Linked DNA regions of Homo sapiens: regions 1, 2 and 4 are each linked to region 3. The links are contacts of gene promoters, found by promoter capture Hi-C in blood cells and fetal thymus (Javierre and others, 2016). All regions are on one chromosome and are shown on one strand. Each heading gives the region's core, a stretch centred on a gene start or on the middle of the fragment in contact. The rest is flanking DNA. Distances are from core to core; before and after follow the strand shown. Region 1 holds the start of C15orf61 (chromosome 15 open reading frame 61). Region 2 overlaps MAP2K5 (mitogen-activated protein kinase kinase 5). Region 3 holds the start of SKOR1 (SKI family transcriptional corepressor 1). Region 4 holds the start of MAP2K5 (mitogen-activated protein kinase kinase 5).

Region 1 (5,904 bases), core at 1,073-3,572, 300 kb before region 3:
GACTCTCCTCGTTCCTTCCCATTTTCTGAGCCTGGTTCTCTAGACTTCTTGTTTACTATTTGGGCTACCTAATTTTCCTCCAATGAATCCCCTTTCTGCTCAAAACAAAAGAAAATCCAAGACAACAACACACTGAAGTTTCATTGTTTTGTTTTTTATCTATAAAGTTAATATAAAAAATTTGAACTTACAGTTGGACATGGTGGCTTCTGTAATCCCAACGACTCAAGAGGCTGAAGTGAGAGACTGGCTTGAGTTCTGGACCAGCTTAAGCAACATAGTGAGAACCCACGCCTAAAAAATAAGTAAAATAAAAAGTTAAAAAAAGTTTGAACTTATGCTTAGTAATAAAGCATAAGTTATTTTTGTTTTTTTTGTTTTTTTTTGAGACGGAGTCTCGCTCTGTCGCTCAGGCTGGAGTGCAGTGGCACGATCTCAGCTCACTGCAACCTCTGCCTCCTGGGTTTAAGTGATTCTCCTGCCTCAGCCTCCCGAGTAGCTGGGACTACAGGCATGTGCCACCACGCCCGGCTAATTTTTCTATTTTTAGCAGACACAGGGTTTCGCCATGTTGGCCAGGCTGGTCTCGGACTCCTGACCTCAGATGATCCACTGGCCTCGGCCTCCCAAAGTGCTGGGATTACAGGCGTGAGCCACCGTGCCCGGCCTAAAGCATAAGTTTTAACCAACTTTATATGTTGGGGACCTTCAACAGATTTCGTTTGAAAAAGGACTCCACTCTTTTTCAAAATTTAATTTGGTCAGGTGCAGAAGCTCACACCTGTAATCCCACCACTTTGGGAGGCCGAGGCGGGCGGATCACTTGAGCCCAAGTGTTCAAGACCAGCCTGGGCAACATGGCAAAATTCCACCTCTACAAAAAATACCAAAAAAAGCAGCCGAGTGTAGGTGGCACACACCTGCAGTCCCAGCTACTTGGGAGGCTGAGGGTGGGAGGATCTCTTGAGCCCAGGAGGCAGAAGTTGCAGTGAGCCGAGATCGAGCAGCTGCACTCCAGCCTAGACAACAGTGAGATCCTTTCTAAAAAAAAGAAAAGAAAAAGAAATTCTATAAAGTTCAAGTTCTATAAGGTAAAGTTCAACTTCAAATTCTGTAAGGTAAAGTTCAAGATTCGGCATATGTTGGTGGGTGCTCAATGTTCAATAAAAACTGGGGAATAGGCCTGGTGCAGTGGCTCACGCCTGTAATCCCAGCACTTTGGGAGGCCGAGGCAGGTGGATCACGAGGTCATGAGTTTGAGACCAGCCTGGCCAACATGGTGAAACCCCGTCTCTATTAAAAATACAAAAATTAGCCAGGCGTGGTGGTGCACGCCTGTAATCCCAGCCACTCGGGAGGCTGAGGCAGGAAAATCACTTGAACCTGGGAGGCAGAGGTTGCAGTGAGCTGAGATTGCACCACTGCACTCCAGCCTGGGCAACAGAGTGAGACTCCGTCTCAAAAAAACAAAACAAAACAAAACAAAAAACTGGGGAATATAAAATTTCGCCATACTATCCTACATCCCCCTTGAGTTTTTAGCAACGATAGTAATTGTTATATGATGCTTAACGCGTAATTACTGTACCTCATTTACATAAGGTGGTTTCAGACACATCATCTTGTTTATGTATGGCCTCTCCAAACAAAATGAGTTTAGGACAAAAGAGGAAATCCTTTTCTAAAAGCAGTTTTGTCCGTAAGTTACTGCCTCAAGAGGCCGCAAAGTTTGAGCAAAGCTTTTCCGAAAGTAATGGATTGGTAATGGGTGACTGAGGTCCACAAAGCTCGATAAGAGGCTCCTGGTCCGTCTACCAGGTTCTTAGAGGGAGGTGCCTTTGTGTGTTCGGACGCTGCACTGAGACACGTGAGGTTTTTAAATAAACTTTTGATTTTGAAATCTCTGGGACTAATTTTAAACAGTGAACCCGACAGCGAGGACCTACACACAAAAGTGCTCCCGGCCTTACCAAACAACGCAGACCCGGGGTCACGCCTCGTCCTGTTTCAACAACAACACCCAAGGGCTTCCCTGGAGCCCAGGGCGTGGGAGGGAGACTTGGGTTTGAGTTCTGCACCTTGCGGAGGTGGTTAGTTATTTAATTGTCTTCCACCTGAATTTTCCTCAGGCCCAAATTGATGAGACCTCCCCGAATCCCTCCCCTGCCCGAGTTACTAATGACGGCGTGAGGTCACACCTGGCCACTCAAAACCAGCTCCTTGACGCAGGTGACCCTCCGCCTCGCGCAGCTCACGCTTCCCATCCCCCGGACTCCACCCCCAGCGGGAGGCCACGGGGCCGCTGTGCGCACGCGCCGCCGCACACCGGGGGCTCTCGGGCACCCGCGCGGCGCCGGTTGGCCTTCCCGGCGCTCGCCCGGGGGCGCGCTTGCGCGCCAGCGGCTGCGGACACCAGCCTGCGTCCCCGGCGCGGCGGGCCATGGAGGCCCTGAGGAGGGCCCACGAGGTCGCGCTCCGCCTGCTGCTGTGTAGGCCGTGGGCCTCGCGCGCCGCCGCCCGCCCCAAGCCCAGCGCCTCGGAGGTGCTGACGCGGCATCTGCTGCAGCGGCGCCTGCCGCACTGGACCTCCTTCTGCGTGCCCTACAGCGCCGTCCGCAACGACCAGTTCGGCCTCTCGCACTTCAACTGGCCGGTGCAGGGCGCCAACTACCACGTCCTGCGCACCGGCTGCTTCCCCTTCATCAAGTACCACTGCTCCAAGGCTCCCTGGCAGGACCTGGCCCGGCAGAACCGCTTCTTCACGGCGCTCAAGGTCGTCAACCTCGGTGAGTGGCGACTGCCGCGCCCACGCGGTGAAGCCCGCCCGGCCGGGACGGCCCCTCAGCCACCGAGCACGTGACGAACGCTCGCAGGCCGGTAGAGTCCCGCGGGAGTCAGCTCTGCCTCCCGGCGCCGGCTTCGCCTGGGGTCCTTTGTACTCCTCGCCCAGGGGGTCCCCAGCTTGCTGAGCTCCTGGCACCCGAAGCCGTTCGCCTGCTGCGGGCGCGTCCTCGGGCCTAGGGAGGGGCGGGTCGCCCTCCTGTCCTGCCCATGTTAACCAGAGTAGACCCCTGGCCTGGGCAGTAAGCCAGGGGGCGTCAGGAAACGCCCCCTAGAAAGTGGCTCTGAAGTTGACATCCGTCCTACTGCATGGCAGGACTCATTCCCGTGAACATCACTTTGCAGCTGCGTTTATGTTGCAATAACTGGAACTACTCTTTTAAGTTTCTTTTGTTTTCTTTGTATGAATTCCCGGCAAGTTCGTTTTACTAAAAGCACCAAAGGTTTTCACCAGACATAACAGCTTCCTGAGGTGCTAGGCCTAAAAGATTTTTAAAGATCTTTAATATTTGTATATTTTCATGGAGACGCCCTGAGGATGTTTACTGTCACTAGGTGTTTATTTTCTTTTGGTTTAATGACAGAAGAGGGAGGTACGAACATGGACATGGGTGTATCTTTTATAGGTCAGGGGAAAACAGAAGGCCTCAAGATGTTTTGAACTTACTAATAGCTGGCATAAAATCAATCTAGATTTCAGTGATTCAAAATCTAGCCATGGAGCTGAATGAACCATGTTACCCAGCCAGGTTTTTAAAGCCAGGATTAAAACTAAACCCTGCGCAGCCGTACTACTAATACTATTACATAATCTGATCGTCCATTAAGGTTAAAAATAGTCTGTGTATTTGTGCTTATAATAACACATATGTCAGTCGTGGGCTTTTTGAGCCGTTACTCCACTGGACTGTCCTGTAAGGAGATAATTGTTTAGCAACGTGTTATCCTTTAAAAATGCCTCTTATTATTTGGCTGATGGACTGTATAGAGCATGCCCACTACTTTGGAGGTTGGTTGAAGTTGAAGGGTGAGGTGACTTAGGAAATTCAATTCGAAATTATTTGGAAAGACTGGAGTGTTAACTAGATTCGAGAAGTATAAGTTTATTTTAGCATTTTTCATAAGTAAGAAATCATTCTTCCCTAAAGAATAATAGGTTAGGAAAAGCATAACGGGAGAGTTATAGGTAAACCATGAGCCAAATGCCTTTTTTTCCTTTAAAGTCACATTTTTAGTGTTGACATTTTGTTTAAGAGCACCTTAATGATTAGGGGCCTCTCTTTTAGATTTAGAGATTAAGACATCCAAAAAAAGTGGATACTCAGAACATTCCACACATAGAAAAGTAAAACCTTTTAAAGTTGAAAGAAACAACAGTTGTAGTGTTTTTTGTTTTGTTTTGTTTATTAATGTGGGAGAGTGATTTAATGGTCTGTATGGTCTTTTGGACATTCTAAAAATCCTGCTAAAATGGGAGTAAGAGTTCTAAGTTAAGCAAAAAGGACAACTTTTTGCTCATGCATGCTTTAATACAAATTGGGATATACTGATAAAGGGAATTAAAAAATATTTTAAAGTGGTGAACACATCTGGTAACGTTTATTTTTAATTTTTGTCTGAAGGTAGAGGGGATGTGAATTAGATAATAGGTCCTTTCCTATTCTGTGAGGTACAATCGTCTCTCTGGGTGATAAAGTACATATCCTATTAATATTATACTTAGGATTTTGTTCCTCTTCTTCCCTTCCAAATTCATTTTTCCATTTTGTAAATAATAAAGATTTCTGTTTACCCATTTGCTCCTTTTCTCCTCCGTCTTCCCTTCAATGGAAGCTGACATTTTACTGATGGTTTACCAGTCTAGGTATCCTGCTGAGAAGTAGATTGAGATTTAAGAAAAGCAACTTACCATTGGAATGAATGAGATTTACTGAGGAATTCTAATTTTTTAAAGTGCTTAATTTGACAGTGGTTTACCTACTGTTCAGCTGACTCAAAGTGAATTATTATGCAAAGAACTGATTTGGAGGTTCTTTTGATGTTACATGTTTCAGATATAAATTTAATTTTTCAGAAAAAATTGAATTTTTCATAGAATCTTATAGACTTCAAAGCATGTGTGCTACAAAGATTTTGTAATATATAAGTTATATAGGTGGCAAACCTTCCCATTTTGAGTATTAGTCTGACTGCATTAAATAAACAGACAGCAAGGGGAAAAAAATACAGAATTTCTGACTCAGATCATAACTCCATCTCCTGTCAAACAGCATCACTGCTAATGGTTGCTGGTTATTTTTTAATAAGACATAATATAGTTATTAAGCTAGTAATCTTTGATCAGCCCTTGATTTTAGCTGAAAATATATTGACCGTTTATTTCTGTATTTGTGATTTTTCAAAAGTATGAATTTTTTAAATCAATATGTTAACTGAAAACTATGATAAATACTATAAAAGAAAATTGTCAGTGTCACCAGGTATTCCTTAAATTTATATACTTAGCCTTGGTTTAAGAGGCCTATTTTATGTATTTTAGTCTCAGTATGCTTAGAAAATTAGTAATTGCTTCTAGAGCCTATTTTTTTTCTTCCTCACTCCATTGATTTTCAGCTTTGAAGTTGTGATATTGCATTTTAAATTTATTTTTTATTTCAACTACTCCCTATACTTCACTCTCATTTCTGCCTAGCTTGTTCATATTCTTCTTTTTCTACCTCCCACCCCTGAGCCACTTGCCTTTTTTTTTCTTTGTGGTTAAATGATTTATAAGTAGCTTTATTATTCTAGTTTTTGTGGATTTTTTTATGACATTCCCTTGAGGTATTCAGAGATTCTTTTGGACATTATCAGGGCAAAGAAGGTGATACACTATAAAAGGTTTCATGGGAGTTCCAGGGAACCCTGTGATGGTGACAAACTGTGACCCAGTATATTCCTAAAAATAGAGAGATGCCAGCCTGAATGGGCATTTTTTTCCCCTTCTCATTACCAGCTAGTGATGTGATGCTTCTCCTGATTAATCTCTGGCATCACAGTGGCTGGAATGAAGCTTCAGGGAGT
Region 2 (5,625 bases), core at 2,393-4,892, 260 kb before region 3:
ATGTGTGTTTCTGGAATGCATGGATGGTTGAAGAGTGAAGTAATAAGGATAAGCTTTCTATATCCCATTCATCAGCAAGTCCTGTTGGCTCTATCTTCAAATTTATCCAGCATGTGATGACTTCTTAAAACCTCAGCTTGGTTTAGGCCACCATCATCTCTCACCGGGATTAGGACAGTGGCCTCCAAACTGGTCTCCCTGTTCTACTTTTGCCTCTATACAGCCTCTTTTCCACATGGCAGCCAGAGTGATTCTTTTAGAAGTCAGGTGACACCACCACGCTCACAACCCTCCAGTGATTTCCATCTCACTCCAAAGTAAAAGACCAAGTCCTTAAAATGCCCTCCAAGGCTCTGCATTTTCGCATCTGGCCTCAACCTGTCCCACCATTGTTTCTCTGAACCCGTGTGTTTCTCCCCAAACCTCTCATTCTGTTCTAGCCACTCTGGCTTCCTTTCGGTCTGTCAAACATGCCAGGCATTCCTCTGACCCAGGGCCTTTGTATTAGCTGCTGCCTCTGCCTGGAACAGTCTTTCCCCAGATATCAGCAAGGCCCACTCCCTCACCTCCTTCAGTCTCTTTCCACTAGAGTGTATGTTCCATGAAGGCAGGATTTTGTTTGTTTTTTCTTTTTTCACTGTTACTGTCCCAGTGCCCAGAACAGTGCCCACCACATAGTGGGTACTTTTATTTGCTGGAAGGAGGAAGAAAGCAAAGAAGTAAGGAAGGAATCAGGAAGAGGGAAGCAAGAAGCTAAATTAAAACTCATGGATATGAAGATGTGGCCATGGAAAGTACGGCCTCTGGTCCTGCCCACGTCATTAACTCCGTGCCTGAGAAGGGCTTTAAACATGACATCTTTTCCGGTAGTTTCCTGTTGATGTCTTTCTAACTTCTATAATTATGTTTTCATTTCTTTTCTCTTACCTGGGAAAAGTGCCTTTGCAGTAGTTCTAATTGCCACCTGGCACAGAAGGAGTGTGACAAATGACATATAATATATTGCCTTAACTTTCTGTAGCTCTTTGTAGAAGCTAGATTGTTTCTCTTGAAAGCCTTCTTGAGCCCCTGTCACTGCAGTGGGTGCTGTTTGGCTGAGAGCTCCCTGGAGTCTGCTGTTTATCTGCTGTTTACTCAGTAGGCCATTGTGACCGCCCCTTACCTGAGGCTGCTTCTCCTCTCTATTGGGCCTTTATGTTTCTCTTCTTGGTTTTTCTTTTGGATTGCATGTTGCCTCAAATAAAATTGCTAACAACATATGGCCTGTTATGATTCTCTTTTCCCAAACTCTGCCATTTTGTATATTTGTGACACACTGCAGATTTTGTGAAGATTGCTTCATAATATTGGTTTACCATCTGCTGCACTCTATTTGGTATCTTGCTAGGATTTTTTCCTCCATTTTAAGTGACATTAACAAAATCTAGCCAGTACATAGGCTTTCTGGTTCTACTTTTGCTTCCCTAATGTGCTGGAAAATCATATTACTATGCTCCAGGCAACTAGAGAAGCCTGGAATTCTCATTGTGAACCAATGTATCAGATCTGTCTGCTCCCCTACCCCCACCCCTTTTGTTGGTCATATCCGGTAACGTTTTTTTGGTCAGATGGCAAAGAACCTCCATGTATAAGATAGAAAAAGCTCAAATTATTTTCTTGCTTCTTAGTACCACTACTTTCTAGTGTTGTTCTCTAACATATTTGTACCTCTGAAACTTTGTGGCAGTTTAGTAAGTTTTTATGATTTATGGTTCCAGCTAGTGTAATTTTTACAGCTTATCCAGCTTGATAGGCAGCTAGCCTGAATCTTGGCTAGATGGGCTGTATATATCCAAGTTTTTGTTCAGAAAAGTATTTTAGGCTACTGTCATAGTAATTTGCTTAGTATGTATTTCTGCTTTCTTACCCTTCACTAACTTTTCGTAGCTGTCAATTCACTGTCTTTAGAGAGAAGTGCATTTTTGCTTTACAGGTTAAGGTGAGTGGTTTGCTCTTGGGCTGCCATCAAGGGGTCAGAGACAGCTCAGCTTTTGCCTTTTGGCTGGAGCCACCAGTCTTCTCATGGGTATGGTTACTTTTCTAACTCAGTTTCCTCTTGGACAAAAACAAGGAGTCTTTAATAAAACGACTAAGCATAGATATTAAAGAGCAAATCAGACAGTCTCCCAAAGAGCAGTTTGTAAAGAAAACCAATACCTATATAAAGCTAGGTATCCTATTAACCCACAACAACTATTCATCAGTATGCCATATAAGCCTGATTTTATCCCCAGCCTTTATTAGAATGCCTCTTTCAACTTATCTGAAATCTTCTTTTGGAGTCAGACCCCCTAAGGGGAGAGTTCCAACATTTTATCACTGGGTTGATGTCAAAAGCTATTCTAACCTTTTGGCTTCAGTTTTCTGTCCACTTAAGCAAATGCTCTTGTAATGTTTCATAGCTACTTTTTATGCAACTTCTCTTCAAGAAATTATTCTGGTAGCTGACTTCTTTCACAGATCTTTTTCTTCTGAAATAATCCCTCAAGAGATTTCTTAGAAATTTAGAATTCCAAAATATTTTGGTTTAAGTAGCCTTAAAGGTTCAAGCTCTAGCTTTGAGAAGTTGAAGAACTCTCCTTTTGTTCTTGATTGTGATTTAAATGATTTTTATGTAATCGGTGCCCCCCCCTTTTTTTAAATAAATTATAAGAAGGGTTTTCACTCGTTTTACCAAAATATAAGCACTTGCCCATCCTATGTGAACAATACCTTATTCAGGTCTTGGGTATATTGAAATTCAAATATAAGCAGTCTCTTTTTAACCATAATCTCTATAGCTAGCTTAGTTGCAGAAATGAGATTTATTTTAAAAAAACTACTTTATTCAGGCTGGAATTTGTTTTTATGCCAAGTTCAGAACTTCATAAAGAACAAATCAGTTTAGCCTACATTTAAAGAGAATTTGACCTGGTTTTAAAGCAAAAATGTAAAGTGCTTTCATGTGTGGTGATATGTAACATTACATCATTTGTACTTTGTTTTTTCCTGTCTCCTGCATTTTTAAGAAAACTTTCGCCTTAACCTTGAAAATATTAGTTTCTAGAACTTATATATAGACAGACTCCTTTCTTCTCTCTCTACAGCTGGAATGGCATTTCTCCCCCAATTTGGCTCTAGAGATTCTATATCTAAAGCGAATGAAAGAATCTTTATGTGTGTAACATCTCTCAGGACTGTGCCTTCTTCATTACTGCAAGTGACCAGTGTATGCCTTTTACTCTGAAAACAGGCAACTCTTGATAGCAGAATACTGGTAGTGACTCTCCTAGATTTAGACAGTGTGATCTTGATGATACCGATTCACACTGAGTTGGGGAACTCTGCAGCAGTGAACCAGGATCCAGAAACAAGTGCTTGGAAAGAAAACAAGTGCTTGGAAAGAGTGAGAGCTATGGGTCACTGAACAGGACTGGTCCAAGTGCTGGTTTCGATCATGCTATCAGATTGCTGTTGGCCACTGAAGAGATAAAGGGAGAAAGTATTTTGCTTGAAATTAGGCTAATTGTGAAAGAACACAAGCTTCCTCCTAGGGTCCCCATAGCCTAGTCACCAAGCAGGGGGATATCCTTGGAACTACAGCCAGACAGGAGGGAAGACCCACTGACTTGTGGTAGGGGAAGATCCCTGTGTTGAACTGAACTCCCTCTGTACTTTCAGTAAGCATCCCCTGACCATGTTGGGCAAGCTTATTCTCTTCATGATGAGAGATTTGTCTGAGGTTCTCCAGGCTTGGGATCAGAACAGTCTTTCTATATGATCAAATCAGCAATTATATGCCCAAGAGTGAACAAAAATAATAATTCCGATTGTTAACACCAGAACTGAGGCATCCTGCTGAGAGCCTGCCCCTTCCAAGTTGTCCCCTTGGGAGGCTCTGTACGTTGCTCCAGACGTTTTTGGCATTTCTTTCAACTGTGCATTTACAGTCTACTACATAGGCTGTCCTCACTGTTGACAAATCTTTATAGAAGGATGAAGAGTTAACTATATATTTGGAAATAGCCATAAGTCATTCTTAGACATGCTTGGCAGATGATGTGGGTAAGTGATCAGGCCAACAATTTCATTTTGGGTTAAAAATGAGATTTAATATTCTCACATAGTCTATCTTCAGGTTTTTAAAGCAGTTTTGAAGAGATATTTCAAAAACTACTTTGAATAAGAGAAGTATCATGAAATAAATACATTATTTCTAGATGTGGCCTCTGATGATACTTACTCAAATTTACACATTCTGGTTATGTAGTTTGTGAAGTCTTGTCCTCCAGCCTTAAGACTTAAATTATTTCAAAATAGCATGAATAGCATTTGAAGCTTTCTATGGCTGGAGAGTATGCAAAACAAGTGAAACTGTTCGGAAAAAGAGCTGCTAAATAGAATGGGGGAGACCTGTATTAGAGCTGCTTTACAAGTTAACCTTGCACTAGGCCTAGGTTCTCCTGTGGAAAGAGAATAATAATAATGATGTTCATGTCGCAGGTTTGTTATGAGGTTTTCAAGGAGGTATTGCATATGAAGCATAGATCACAGTGCCTCATGTATTGTAGTGTTCAGTAAGTGTTAGCCATTTTTATCATGCTGTTGTGAGATGATAGATTGCCTGGGAGAGAGGAAGAATGGAGAAATCGGGGTATGGTGCTGTTTGGGAGATTTAAAAAGTGTGGATAGTAGAACAAGACTGGCCTCTCGTTGGTTTTTAGTTCCGCTAACCAAACCTGTTTTGTCATACTCCAGTTATATTTACTTTAACCTAGAGATATGTTGTGAATGACATGAGCAATATTTTAATTTTCTGCTATCCCTAAAAGAAAGTTTTATATTGAGATTCTGATCATATTCCAAATGGAAAACAAAACAACAAACTAATAATGTCAACATACCCCCAAAATGTGGTGTTGAGGGTTAGAATATCACATTGTAATAAACCGTTTATATTATGTTCCCTTTGTGCATTAAACAAATGCACACCTTATCATTTGCATTATGTGCTTTTAAACAGATGAAGATGAAGATGGTGATCGAATTACAGTGAGAAGTGATGAGGAAATGAAGGCAATGCTGTCATATGTAAGTATACGACAAATGAAGACTATTTTTTAAAATCTTAACGTGATTGAGGATGCTGTTTCTTGGGCATAGTGAAGACGAGTAAATAAATCACAGTTGTCATACATTTTTCTATATAATAGGTAAAGGTTTCAAGGATTTCCGTATGTGAAAGTTAAGGGCATTATTTTCAAAAGACACTTACTGATCATATCATAAACATTAAGAATAATGCATCTTAATGACTTTTGCATTAGGTATGATGCAGACTAAATGGACTATCAATTTCCTGTATTTTTTATGCAGTACTTAAAGTAACGGCTCATTAAAAATGAACCCCTGGGCTCTAAAAAATTTTTCAAAATCTACTTTCAACTGGAGATCTCTCTCACCCTTCCAGACTATAGTTTACAATGTAGCTGCAGGCTTAATATGGATACACGATTTAAAGATGTACTGTTGGTTATTTATGCACTACCCATAATACTCCCACCGAAAATGAACTACAGGGCTACTTACTGAATCAAAGTGATCTGA
Region 3 (5,608 bases), core at 2,034-4,533:
ATCCCTGCCATTATTAACTTCTGTTTGATTAGGGTAATTGTTCAAACTTGGGCCGGACAGTATGATTAATTACAGTTTAATTAACGTGTCCATTAAGGACACTTAATGCCAGGGGGGCAGGGAGGGAGGTGGTGGAAGCGGCCAACGGGGCGCCTGGGTGCGGGCTAAGAGGGGCGGGGTGCGACTAGTAACTCAAACGAAGAAGTAGAGACAGATTGAGAGAGGAAGAGAAGGGGACCCAGTGGGGCGTTAGGGGAAAGAATGGTGAAGACGGAGAGACCGACTGAGACAGGAAAGGGATGGAGAGAAACGGAGCTTTGAGGAGAGAGAGGAGGTACCCAGGGGCGTCTGTAGCATCAGAGGACTGGACCTCCCCCTTGGGGAAACTGGCTTAGCAGCGTTGAGAGCGTAGTTAACCTCAGATCACTCCCAACGATGACTTGGCTCCTGCCCTGGGCCTGTTGGTGATGGCGAAGGGAGGCATTCAAGGCCGAGGGCTCCCCAAACCTAGTTCCCAAGTCCCCTGCCCAGGGACGGAAACAGGAGAACGCCCCTCCTCAGGTTAGAGCTCTCTCTTGATACCTCCCACCGAAGTCAGGAGCATGGGAGAGGCAGATCTGCTCCTTCCCGGGTGCCATCCTCGCTGCCCTGCACCCAGGTCCCTGTCCCGGTCTCTGGTGACCCTACTGGTTCCCGAGGGCCACTCTAGGCTCCACCACCCTGGCCCTCGCCTGCGGCCGGAAAGTGAAGTACTCCTCCCTGCGCCCGTTCCTCTTGAGTCCCCCTTAGCCCCATCACCCGGTTTTGGCCCAGACCAAAACTGGCTCCTTGGCCGGGAGCACTGGGCCCTCCCCACTTCGTTCTTGGGGACAAACTTTATGGCCCCAGGGCCTTTCCTCCCTCCTGGCCTCTCCAGCTAGAGCGGGACGCAGGTGCAGGGTGCTGGACGCAGGTGTGCGGCCGCTTACCTGGGGCGTGCAGGCCTTGGGCTGCGGGGAGGCGGCGGGCGCCGCGCGTGGCCCGCGGGCGGGCGGACCCGGGGAGGGCGCTAGCGACTGCGCGGGCGGTGGGTGTGGCGCCCCGGCTCTCAGCTGTCAGGCGCGCCTGCCCCGCCACTCGGGCTGTGACCGCGCCGTCCCCGCCGCCGCGCCATGCGCTCCAGGCTTCGGCCTCTTCTTCCGGCCAGTCCCCGGCCTCGGGGTCAACGGCTCAGGGTTCGCATCTCCGCGCCCGGGGTCCCGGCGCCCCGTGCCCGCTGAGAGCGGGAGGGGCCGCGGGTGGGAGCGCGGAGAACCAGGGAGCACGGCTGTGCGCGCGCGCGGGGAGGGGCCGCGCCGTCACCCGGAGAGCCCGGCGGATCCCGGACTCCCGCCCGCCGCTCCTCCCGCCGCGCACCTCCGCTCACCGCTCGCCCGGCTCCAGCCGCCGCCGCACTGTGAGTACCCACGTCCGGTAGCCCGCCGCCCCCGCGCTCTGCTCCTGCAGCTTTTTTTTCGTTTAGTTCTGATTTGGGCTCCTGTGGCTGTTGTTTTTATGATTATACCTAAAGACACCACCGCCTCGCTCCCACCACTGCCAGTCTCCCGCTTCGCTGCCCTCCCCAAGCTCGTCCATCTAGCTCCGGGAGCCGACGGGGGTTCCTCAAGCTGCTCTGGCTGCTGCTCCTTGTCGCTGCATATGGCTCTTCGCCTGTGCTTTCCGCTTTGGCCCCCGAAATTCCGTTCCTTTCCTAGGGACCCCCTTCTTCTGACTCCGGGCCCGGACCCCCCTCCTCTCACTCAGGGAAAACCGCGCAGGGACCCAGGACCCTCAACTGGGGTACGCTCTCGGCTCGGGCGCTGTCTTCACTGTATGCGGGCCAGGCATAGTTGCCGATTTCGAGAAACCGAGAAGCTGTCATTTCCCAGCGCTGCGCGCCCTCCAGCCACCTCCAGGAGGGCGCGAGGCTTGTCAGCCGGGGAGTTAGGACAGTGTTTTTGCCTCCTACAATGATATAAAGGACTTCAACGCGAAATAAGGGTCAACTTATTTTAGTTCGATCCTCGGAGATAAAGATGAAACAGACAGATAATACATAAATAGCTTGATACTTGAAGAAGGTACAAAACAGATGAGAGAAAGAGGAACGAGCCGGCAGAGACAGCTCAGGGACAGATAAGATCGACAAATGAGGGTCTCCTAGACAAATAGAGAAGAAGGGAGAGAGACAGATAAACAGAAGATTCCAGTCTCCTTGCTGAAGGCTTTTGAACTGGGATCCCCTGTCTGGAGCTGCCCCTCTGAAAACGGAGTTACATTCAGGGCCGACTGCAGGGGAGGAGCCCTCAGGGTTGGGCTGCCCTGGCCGCAGGAGCGCCTGCAGCCTTGGGCCGGATGGGAGCCTGGCTTGTCTGAGGACATGTGGCTGGGTCAGGCGACCTAGAGGGCCCCAAACATCAGTCCCCAAGTACCCCCGCTGCTGAGGTCTGCCTGCACAGCTCCCTCCCTGCCTCAGCCAGAAAGCAAAGTGCAAGGACCAGCAGCAACTTGTGTGCCTGGAGCCTTGCAATGGCTACGAAGATGGCTGAGATTCCTTCTAGCCCATATGAGCCGGGACAGCGAGGCATGAAGGATACTCAGAGAGGTGATGCCCCTCAAAGAGGAAGCCCAGAGCCCCGAATCCTGCAGTTGGCCCGAGTGGGAAACGTATATCTGAAGGAGGAAAGCTCAAGGAGTGGGCGACTGGAAGCTAAGAAGTGGATCCCAACAAAGTTCCTTGAGAACCTCTCTGTCCCACACGTTGACCTCGGTGGAAACCAGCTTTGGTCTGGAATACAGCTAAAAATGCAGAAAATGTGGTTAGAACTGCAGGATCCTGGTCTCACTAATAGCTGGAAAGAAAACGGTTTATATATCCAGCCGAAATCTTTCTGCTCAACGAACGCGGGCGCCAGCCGTGAGAGGAGAAGCTCGGGTTTGTGGAAACTGGCAATGTTGTCCCCTGAAGCCGGCTCGGGCACCAAGCTGGGTGCGGTGGGGGCCGCGCTAGGTCCGGGTGCGCACCGAGCGCTTTGGAGAGGGTCAGGTTCAGCACCGCGAACAGCGGTAGCCTCCGCCTCTCTCCTTCCCTGGCAGACACGGTTCCCTCCTCCTTCTCCTCACCCCCCTCCTTCTCTTCACCCCCCTCTACCCCCTGCTGTCTGGAGATGGGCAGTGACCGCCCCTCCCCCCTCCCCACCCCTCCTTGCACTGCCCCCGCCCGCCCGCGTGCATGCGCGACTGAGCAGAGGGGCGGCCGATCCCCGAAGTCCGGGCTTCAGGACCCGGGCCGGCAGCACCGGCTGCGAGGGTTGCCGAAGGCGCACGGATCTGGGCGCTGAAAAAGCCAGGATTTGGCAATGGCTTTGCTGTGTGGCCTTGGGCAAGTCACTCTGCGTATCTGGGTTTCACTTCCTTCCCAATCCGAAAACGGGATTGGGTTCCTTGCAGCCCGGGCATTCCTGAGGTCTCCTTTACCCCTTCTCCTCCCCCAAGCCCCGGGGGCTGTTGTTAACGGCGCCAACATGGGTCTGAGTAACAAAAGACGCCTGTCCAGGGGGTGAATGAGTTTGGACTCCCCACTGCCAAGTATCCCCCGCGCGCCCAACTCGGAGCGCCCTGCTGGGCGGGCCCGAGCCTCGGCGGCGGCGCTGAAAATGGCTCATCTGCTCTCTGCTTTCTCTATTTCGCAGGAGCGGCGGCATGGAGGCTCTCACCACTCAGCTGGGGCCGGGGCGCGAGGGCAGTTCCTCGCCCAACTCCAAGCAGGAGCTGCAGCCGTACTCGGGCTCCAGCGCTCTCAAACCCAACCAGGTGGGCGAGACGTCGCTGTACGGGGTGCCCATTGTGTCGCTGGTCATCGACGGCCAGGAGCGCCTATGCCTGGCGCAGATCTCCAACACCCTCCTCAAGAACTACAGCTATAATGAGATCCACAACCGCCGCGTGGCCCTGGGCATCACGTGCGTGCAGTGCACGCCGGTACAGCTGGAGATTCTGCGTCGGGCCGGGGCCATGCCCATCTCGTCGCGCCGCTGCGGCATGATCACTAAGCGAGAGGCCGAACGCCTGTGCAAGTCGTTCCTGGGCGAGCACAAACCACCCAAGCTGCCCGAGAACTTCGCCTTCGATGTGGTGCACGAGTGCGCGTGGGGCTCGCGTGGTAGCTTCATCCCTGCGCGTTACAACAGCTCTCGTGCCAAGTGCATCAAGTGCGGCTACTGCAGCATGTACTTCTCGCCCAACAAGTTCATCTTCCACTCGCACCGAACACCCGACGCCAAGTACACGCAGCCCGATGCCGCCAACTTCAACTCCTGGCGTCGTCACCTCAAACTCAGTGACAAGTCGGCCACAGACGAACTGAGCCATGCTTGGGAGGACGTCAAGGCCATGTTTAATGGCGGCACGCGCAAGCGGACCTTCTCCCTACAAGGAGGCGGCGGAGGCGGTGCCAATGGCGGGTCGGGTGGGCAGGGGAAGGGTGGTGCTGGCGGCGGTGGCGGCGGTGGCCCAGGGTGCGGTGCAGAGATGGCCCCAGGCCCGCCGCCCCACAAAAGCCTGCGCTGTGGCGAAGATGAGGCTGCCGGGCCTCCGGGGCCACCTCCACCCCACCCGCAGCGCGGACTTGGCCTGGCGACTGGAGCTAGTGGCCCGGCGGGCCCAGGAGGGCCCGGTGGCGGCGCCGGCGTACGAAGCTACCCGGTGATCCCGGTGCCCAGCAAAGGCTTTGGGCTCCTGCAAAAGCTGCCCCCACCACTTTTCCCCCATCCTTACGGCTTCCCTACGGCCTTCGGCCTATGCCCCAAAAAGGACGACCCGGTTTTAGGCGCGGGCGAGCCAAAGGGCGGTCCTGGCACTGGGAGCGGCGGCGGCGGCGCGGGGACAGGCGGGGGTGCGGGGGGCCCGGGAGCCAGCCACTTGCCCCCGGGGGCAGGGGCGGGCCCGGGCGGCGGCGCCATGTTCTGGGGGCATCAACCCTCCGGGGCAGCCAAGGACGCAGCGGCAGTGGCTGCAGCGGCCGCCGCCGCCACTGTGTACCCGACGTTTCCCATGTTCTGGCCAGCAGCAGGCAGCCTCCCGGTACCGTCCTACCCCGCTGCTCAGAGCCAAGCCAAGGCCGTGGCGGCAGCCGTGGCGGCGGCAGCGGCGGCGGCAGCGGCAGCTGCTGGCAGCGGTGCCCCAGAGCCCCTGGACGGTGCCGAGCCAGCCAAAGAGAGTGGCCTCGGCGCGGAGGAGCGCTGCCCGAGCGCTCTGTCCCGCGGGCCCCTGGACGAAGACGGCACGGACGAGGCGCTGCCACCGCCCCTGGCCCCGTTGCCCCCGCCGCCCCCGCCGCCCGCACGCAAAGGCTCCTACGTGTCGGCCTTCCGGCCGGTGGTCAAGGACACCGAGAGCATCGCTAAGCTCTACGGGAGCGCCCGGGAGGCGTACGGCGCGGGGCCTGCTCGGGGGCCGGGACCCGGCGCTGGGAGCGGCGGCTACGTGAGCCCGGACTTTCTGAGCGAGGGCAGCTCCAGCTACAATTCCGCCTCGCCCGACGTGGACACCGCGGACGAGCCCGAGGTGGACGTGGAATCCAACCGCTTCC
Region 4 (6,271 bases), core at 2,971-5,470, 280 kb before region 3:
CATGTGGTATGTTAAATAGTGATAAATGGGCAGGGTGTAGTGGTTCACGCCTGTAATCCCAGCACTTTGAGAGACATGCAGATCACTTGAGCCCAGGAATTCAAGACCAACTTGGCCAACATGGTGAAACCCCGTCTCTACTAAGAATACAAAAAAAACAAAAATAGCTGGGCATGGTGGTGCACGCCTGTGGTCCTAGCTACTCAGGGAGTTGAGGTAGGAGGATCGCTTGAGCCCAGGTGGTGGAGGTTGCATTGAGCTGAGATCACACCACTGCACTCCAGCCTGGGTGACAGAGCCAGACCCTGTCTCAAAAACAGAAAGAAAAAAAAAATAGCAATAAGTGCCAGGAGAAAAACACTAGGGAAGAGGATTAGGAATTGTGCATGCCTTCATGCTTGTATCTATGGGTTTGAGGATGGCCTGCAATCTCAATAATGTGCCAAGGGAGAGCCTCAGCAAGAAGGTGACCTTTGAGTCAAGACCTACAGAATGTGAGGTAATGACCCATGCAGATATCTAGGTTAAGAGCAATCCAAGCAGAGGAAATGGCAAATGCAAAGGCCCTGAGGTGGGATGCGGGACATGTTCAAGGCACAGTGAGGAGGAGGCTGGTAGGAGTGAGGGAGATTAGTAGGAAATGAAGTTTGAGAGTTTAGATGGGATGAGGGGCAGAATGTGTAGAGTTTTGTAGGCCAAGAAAAGGATTTTGGCCTTTTTCCTGCACAAGATAAGAAGCTGTTTGGAGAGTTTTAGTCAAACAAGTGACTTGATCTAACTGTGGCAACTGGGTAGATAATACTGTTGGTAGTAGGGGCAAGGGCGAAAACAGAAGATGAAAGAATAGTTTGGACTGGGGTAGTAGCAGTGAAGGTGGTGAGAAAGGCTCAGATTCTGGATTAAGGATTCGATACTGGGATCAGGGTAATAAGAGATGAAAGAAAACCTCTCTGAATTTATAACAGCAAAATGTAATTTTTCTCCTTAAAAAAATAAATCACAACAACAAAATAACCCTATTAAAATGGGCAAAAAAAAAAAAAAAAAAAGCCAGGTGCGGTGGCTTATGCCTGTAATCCCAGCACTTTGGGAGGCCGAGGTGGGCAGATCGCCTGAGGTCAGGAGTTCGAGACCAGCTTGGCCAACATGGTGAAACCCCATCTTTACTAAAAATACAAAAATTAGCTGGGTGTGGTAGTGCACGTCTGTAGTCCCAGCTACTCGAGAGGCTGAGGGAGGAGAATCCCTTGAACCTGGGAGGCGGACGTTGCAGTGAGCTGAGATTGTGCCTCTGTACTCCAGTTTGGGAGATAGAGCAAGACTCTGTCTCAAAAATAAATAAATAAATACACAAAATGGGCAAAAAACTTCAATAGGTATTTCTCCAAAGAAGATATACAAATGAGCAACAAGAATAGGTAAAGATGTTCAACATCACTAATCATTAGAGAAATACAAATTAAAACTACAGTAAGATATCACATTATACCCAACAGGATAGCTACTATAAACAAATATAGAAAATAACCAGTGGTGGTGAAAACATGGAGAAATTGGAACTCTTATGCACTTTTGGTGAGAATGTAAAATGGTACAGCCACTCTGGAAAACAGTATGGTGATTCCTCAAAAAATTAAACATAGAAAATATGATCCAGCAATTCCACTTTTGAGTATACATCCCAAAAAGTCGAAAGGAGAGACAGGAACAGATATTTGTACCCCCATGTTCATATCAGCATTATTCACAATAGCCAAAAGGTGGAAACAACTTAAATGTTCATTGATAGATGAATGGATACACACAATGTGTTATATACACACAACAGAATTTTGTTCAGCTTTGAAAAGGAAGGAAATGGCCAGGGGTGGTGGCTCATGCCTGTAACCCCAGCACTTTGGGAGGCCAAGGTGGGTGGATCACCTGAGGTCAGGAGTTCGAGACCAATCTGGCCAACATGGTGAAACCCTGTCTCTACTAAAAATACAAAAATTAGCCTTGTGTGGTGGTGGGCACCTGTAATCCCAGCTACTTGGGAGGCTGAAGTGGGAGAATTGCTTGAACCCAGGAGGTGGAGCCTAGATCATGCCACTACACTCCAGTGTTGATGACACAGCAAGAGTACATCTTAAAAAAAAAAAAAAAAGTAAGGAAATGCTGACACATGTTACAACATGATGGACCCTGAAGGCATTATACCAAGTGAAATAAGCCAGTCACAAAAAGGCAGATACTGGATGATTCTATTTATATGAGGTATCTAGAGTAGTCAAATTCATAGAAATAGAAAGTTGATTGGTGGTTGCCAGGGGCTGGAGGGAAGGGGAAGTGGGCAGTTGTTTAATGAATATAGAGTTTCAGTTTTGCAAGATGAAAATCTGGAGATTGGCTGTACAACAGGATGAATGAATGTATGTAACACTACTGATCTGCACACTTCAAAATGAGTACAATGGTAAATTTTATGTGTATTTTATCACAAGGAAAAAAATCACTAGACATCTAACTTTTCAGTAATGTGTCTATTTTCAGTTAAATTTGCCAGTTAACTGAAGCCAATATAGGCCAGTTTTCATATTCCTTAGTGTTATCACACTGGTGCACTTACTGTTTTACCATTTTCCCTTCTGATTTCATTTTTCTGTTAGCATTTACTACTATCTAACATATATTTTACTCATTTGTCTGTGTTCCCCATCAGAATATAACTTCATGAGGGGAGGGATTTTCTATTACACTTAGTGAAAAGTAAATCCCTCAAGTAGGAACACTACAAGTAAGCACAGTTTTTTTTTTACAGTAAGTTTGCTTAATGGCTAGTAAACTATCTCAGCCAGTACCTGAGTGACTATTCTGACTTGTATCATTTAACAAGAAAAAAGGCCTGGCGCGCTGTCTCACGCCTGTATTCCTAGCACTTTGGGAGGCCGAGACGGGTGGATCACTTGAGGTCAGGAGTTCCAGACCAGCCTGGCCAACATGGTGAAACCTCGTCTCTACTAAAAGTACAACAATTAGCTGGGCGTGGTGGCACATACCTATAGTCCTAGTTACTTGGGAGGCTGAGGCAGGAGAATCGCTTGAACCTGGGAGGTGGAGGTTGCAATGAGCCGAGACTGCGCCAGTGCACTACAGTCTGGGTGACAGAGTAAGACTCCGTCTCAAAATAAATAAATAAAATAAAATAAAATGAAAAAAAGTACTAAATGCAAACTTCTTAAGATCACATGCAACTTCGATGTTAAATACTAAATATTCCTTAAATTTAGACAGTATTCAATTTGGTAAAGATCAGAAAGTTATATTTTGTCATTTATGATATCAAGTGGAATGTATTATCAGTGATTATGATGCTTCTCGCAATGAGAGTTATAACTTTCTGGAAAAATCCTTGCTCAAATCATCAAAGTTAAGATTTCTTACTACATAAAGGCTATGAAGAGCTGACGTGTAATTATATTGGCTCTGCAAATATTGGAACAGAAATATGAGTTTGCCATTAGTGTAAGAAAAGCTTCAGAATATGTATGCAAATTTGGCAAATTGAGTTGGTTTTCCCCACGGTACTTCGAATAAAAGAGACATTTTAACAAATCACAGGTTCATAGAAAATCTCTAGTTTCGTGGTCTATTTTCTAAAATAATAGGAAATGAACTTTTAATAAAAGTACATGAGGACTTTTGATGAACGGTTTATTTTTCACAGAAGTGAAGTGCAGGTGAAAAGGGGAAATTCCTAGAATATCTGAAGGATCTGACTAAATGAATTTCTACCTAAGCTATTGATTTACAGTAACTTAAAATGTGATAATTTATCTCCTACAATGGCCTTTCAAATTAAATATAAAAGTAACTCAGAGTAAAGTATGCAGAAAAAATTTTGGTATTGTAACTGAAAATGACCAACATTAATTTTTTTCTCTCACATTAATCAAGCACCTTACTGTTAGAAGGGAAACTGACAAGCCTCCTCAACCGAGTTTATACAAAATTCAACCCCAGAAAGTAAAGCCAATTCGTGCACCTTCATAAGAAAGAAATAAAGGACGAACCTACACATTACAATTTGTAAAGAAACTTCTGTAGAGGCACCATCGTTCTACAACCTTATGCACTTTAAAATCTGAGGTAACAAGGCATTTGAAGATAACCAAGGTTGGCCGGGCGCGGTGGCTCACACCTGTAATCCCCCCAGCACTTTGGGAGGCTGAGGTGGGCGGATCACGAGGTCAGGAGTTTGAGACCAGCCTGGCCAACATAGTGAAACCCAGTCTCTACTGAAAATACAAAAATGAGCGGGCACGGATGGCGCACGCCTGTAGTCCCAGTTACTCGGCAGGGGTTGGGGGCTGGTGGGGGTGGTAGTGCTGAGGCAGGAGAATCGCTTGAATCCGGGAGGCTGAGGTTGTGGTGAGTAGAGGTCGCGCCGTTGCACTCCAGCCTGGGCGACGGAGCGAGACTCCGTCTCAAAAAAAAAAAAAAAAAAGATAACCAAGGTTTATTGCTACTTCCGTGATATCACCATATCACCAACTGCGTAAGCAGTGCTATTTAGTTGAAAATACATGGACTAGACCGAATATTTCTGCAACAGTTTAATAAGAGACGATGATGCGACTACTGCAGCTGTCCCCAGGCAATTAAACTCTTCGGCGAATTTCTTTACTATTGCTTTTGAACAGGGAACTGTTTGCTATTTTAGGGCACTCGTGCGGTAAAGAACTTCACTGAAAAATGCAAATATGTTTTGCTAATGTGGGAGAAAGATGATGATCCTCTGAACCTGTGACTTGGAAGGGGGGATAAAAAAGAACTATTTCTTGAATTCTTGCCTTGCTCTTGCTGATTCGATGCACACAACCCCACGAACATTCAGATTCATGGCTTGACAAAGTGGGGATAACCGGGAGCTGCAGCCCCGTCTTTGAAGCTTTTGTAAAGACAAACGGTCTGCAATGTTAAGCCTTAAATTGGCTTTTGGCGGACTCCAGCCTTTTACCCTTCGTTTGGTAGATGTTTTCACCTCGCTGTCATTAAGCAGGGTCAGGAAATGGAAGGGCCGTGACCGGGTCGCCGCGGGCGCTCTGTGGGCGATGAGGGTCTCCTGAGCGAGCAAGACCAGTCTCTCCCCGACTCGCCACGCGCCACGCGCCGCGCGCCGCGCGCCGGTTCCTCGGCTTCCCACGCCGGGGGCGCATCCTCCCGGGAGCTGCTGCCCTTTTCCAACATGGCGCCGCGGGAGGCGGGTCCCGCTCGTCGGCTCCCGGGGTTCCGGCGCCGCGCGTTTTGGTTCCGGAGTAACAGTGTCGCCGCCGCCTTCCTCCTCCTCCTCTCGCCGCTACCGCCGTCGCCGCCGCCGCAGCCGCCGCCAGTCCGCGCGGCCTCGGGTGGCCGGAGCTCAGCCTGCGCGCGCCGCGCCCTGTGTCTCCGGGTGGGGCAGAAGACTCGCCCCTTGAACCTCCCGCGGGGACTCTCCGTGGTGTGGCGGCCCTGGGGCTCTTTCTTAATAGCCCCGGACTGAGTCCCCTCCAGTCGAGGACCCTCTCCTAGTCCACTGACGAGCGGTGGACACCTGCCGCTGTATCTCCCCCAAACCGAGTCCTTGCCCTGCTGCCTCCTCATACCCACACGGCGGCAGAGACCTTCACCATAGCGTTCGCTCAACTCCAGAACCTTCCGACCTCCGCTAGTTCCTGCGGGCCTTTGCCCGCTTCCCGGTGCACCCTCCCCGGGAGACACCTCAGACCCCCGACAGCCTGGGCAGGCTCGGTGCCTGCGGGTGCGTTCCTGATCACCCCTCCCCTCTTCCCTCCCCCTCATCCTCCATTCCCTTGTTTTCACCCTCTGTCCTCTGCCCGTCACTCCCCTTGTCACCTCTTGGAGCCCCCTCCTAACCAGCGGCCAGTGGGTTTCCCATACCCCAGGATGTGAGCCTCTTTAACCTGTAATGCTGTGGCTAGCCCTTGGCCCCTTTCCTGCCATGGAGAACCAGGTGCTGGTAATTCGCATCAAGATCCCAAATAGTGGCGCGGTGGACTGGACAGTGCACTCCGGGCCGCAGTTACTCTTCAGGGATGTGCTGGTGAGTGGTAATCTCAGTGTCCGGATGCCAGCAAGGGGGACTCAGGGACTTGAGTAGTCAGCACCTTGACCACTGGTGACCTGAGCCAGTGGCAATGGCTACTGCTGGCTTCCTGTGGAGGCAGTTTTATTGCTTCAGGCACAGCATTGATAAATTGCAACCACTAAAACCTGGCAAATGTCTAGGACC

What was found. The method cuts DNA at HindIII sites, captures the fragments that hold promoters and counts their contacts. A CHiCAGO score of 5 or more calls a contact.
Region 1: a contact is called between the fragment with the promoter of C15orf61 here and the fragment with the promoter of SKOR1 in region 3, in 8 of 17 cell types (naive CD4 T cells, total CD8 T cells, non-activated CD4 T cells and 5 more). The highest score is 8.2, in naive CD4 T cells.
Region 2: a fragment that was not itself captured here is called in contact with the fragment with the promoter of SKOR1 in region 3 in 3 of 17 cell types (naive CD4 T cells, non-activated CD4 T cells and activated CD4 T cells); the score reaches 5.9 in naive CD4 T cells.
Region 4: a contact is called between a fragment that was not itself captured here and the fragment with the promoter of SKOR1 in region 3, in 5 of 17 cell types (activated CD4 T cells, total CD4 T cells, megakaryocytes and 2 more). The highest score is 5.5, in activated CD4 T cells.

What each region holds. Positions count from the first base shown.
Region 1 is chr15:67,518,809-67,524,712 of GRCh38, forward strand. It overlaps C15orf61 (chromosome 15 open reading frame 61), which reads left to right and starts at 2,323. Exons shown (of 2, transcript NM_001143936.2): 1 at 2,323-2,786. The coding sequence starts at 2,441. It overlaps IQCH-AS1 (IQCH antisense RNA 1), which reads right to left and starts at 3,036. Exons shown (of 6, transcript NR_040052.1): 1 at 2,711-3,036; 2 at 192-294. RefSeq lists enhancers at 1,910-1,989, 2,630-2,749 and a silencer at 2,170-2,519. The HindIII fragment of the contact is 4,154 bases long and covers 1,738-5,891 here.
Region 2 is chr15:67,558,242-67,563,866 of GRCh38, forward strand. It overlaps MAP2K5 (mitogen-activated protein kinase kinase 5), which reads left to right. Exons shown (of 22, transcript NM_145160.3): 3 at 5,042-5,109. Among named protein-coding and RNA genes, the nearest start is that of MAP2K5, 18 kb to the left of the region's middle. The HindIII fragment of the contact is 166 bases long and covers 3,560-3,725 here.
Region 3 is chr15:67,822,226-67,827,833 of GRCh38, forward strand. SKOR1 (SKI family transcriptional corepressor 1) reads left to right here and starts at 3,284. Exons shown (of 9, transcript NM_001365915.1): 1 at 3,284-3,484; 2 at 3,711-5,608. The coding sequence starts at 3,378. It overlaps LOC124903570, which reads left to right and starts at 1,152. Exons shown (of 4, transcript XM_047433429.1): 1 at 1,152-1,214; 2 at 1,734-1,818; 3 at 2,414-3,177; 4 at 3,288-3,359. The coding sequence starts at 1,152. The coding sequence ends at 3,359. RefSeq lists enhancers at 4,552-5,190, 5,191-5,608. The HindIII fragment of the contact is 26,599 bases long and covers 1-5,608 here.
Region 4 is chr15:67,537,389-67,543,659 of GRCh38, forward strand. MAP2K5 (mitogen-activated protein kinase kinase 5) reads left to right here and starts at 5,315. Exons shown (of 22, transcript NM_145160.3): 1 at 5,315-6,082. The coding sequence starts at 5,948. It overlaps MAP2K5-DT (MAP2K5 divergent transcript), which reads right to left and starts at 5,242. Exons shown (of 1, transcript NR_186334.1): 1 at 3,680-5,242. RefSeq lists enhancers at 2,132-2,221, 4,255-4,755, 4,408-4,457 and a silencer at 5,331-5,450. The HindIII fragment of the contact is 1,416 bases long and covers 3,513-4,928 here.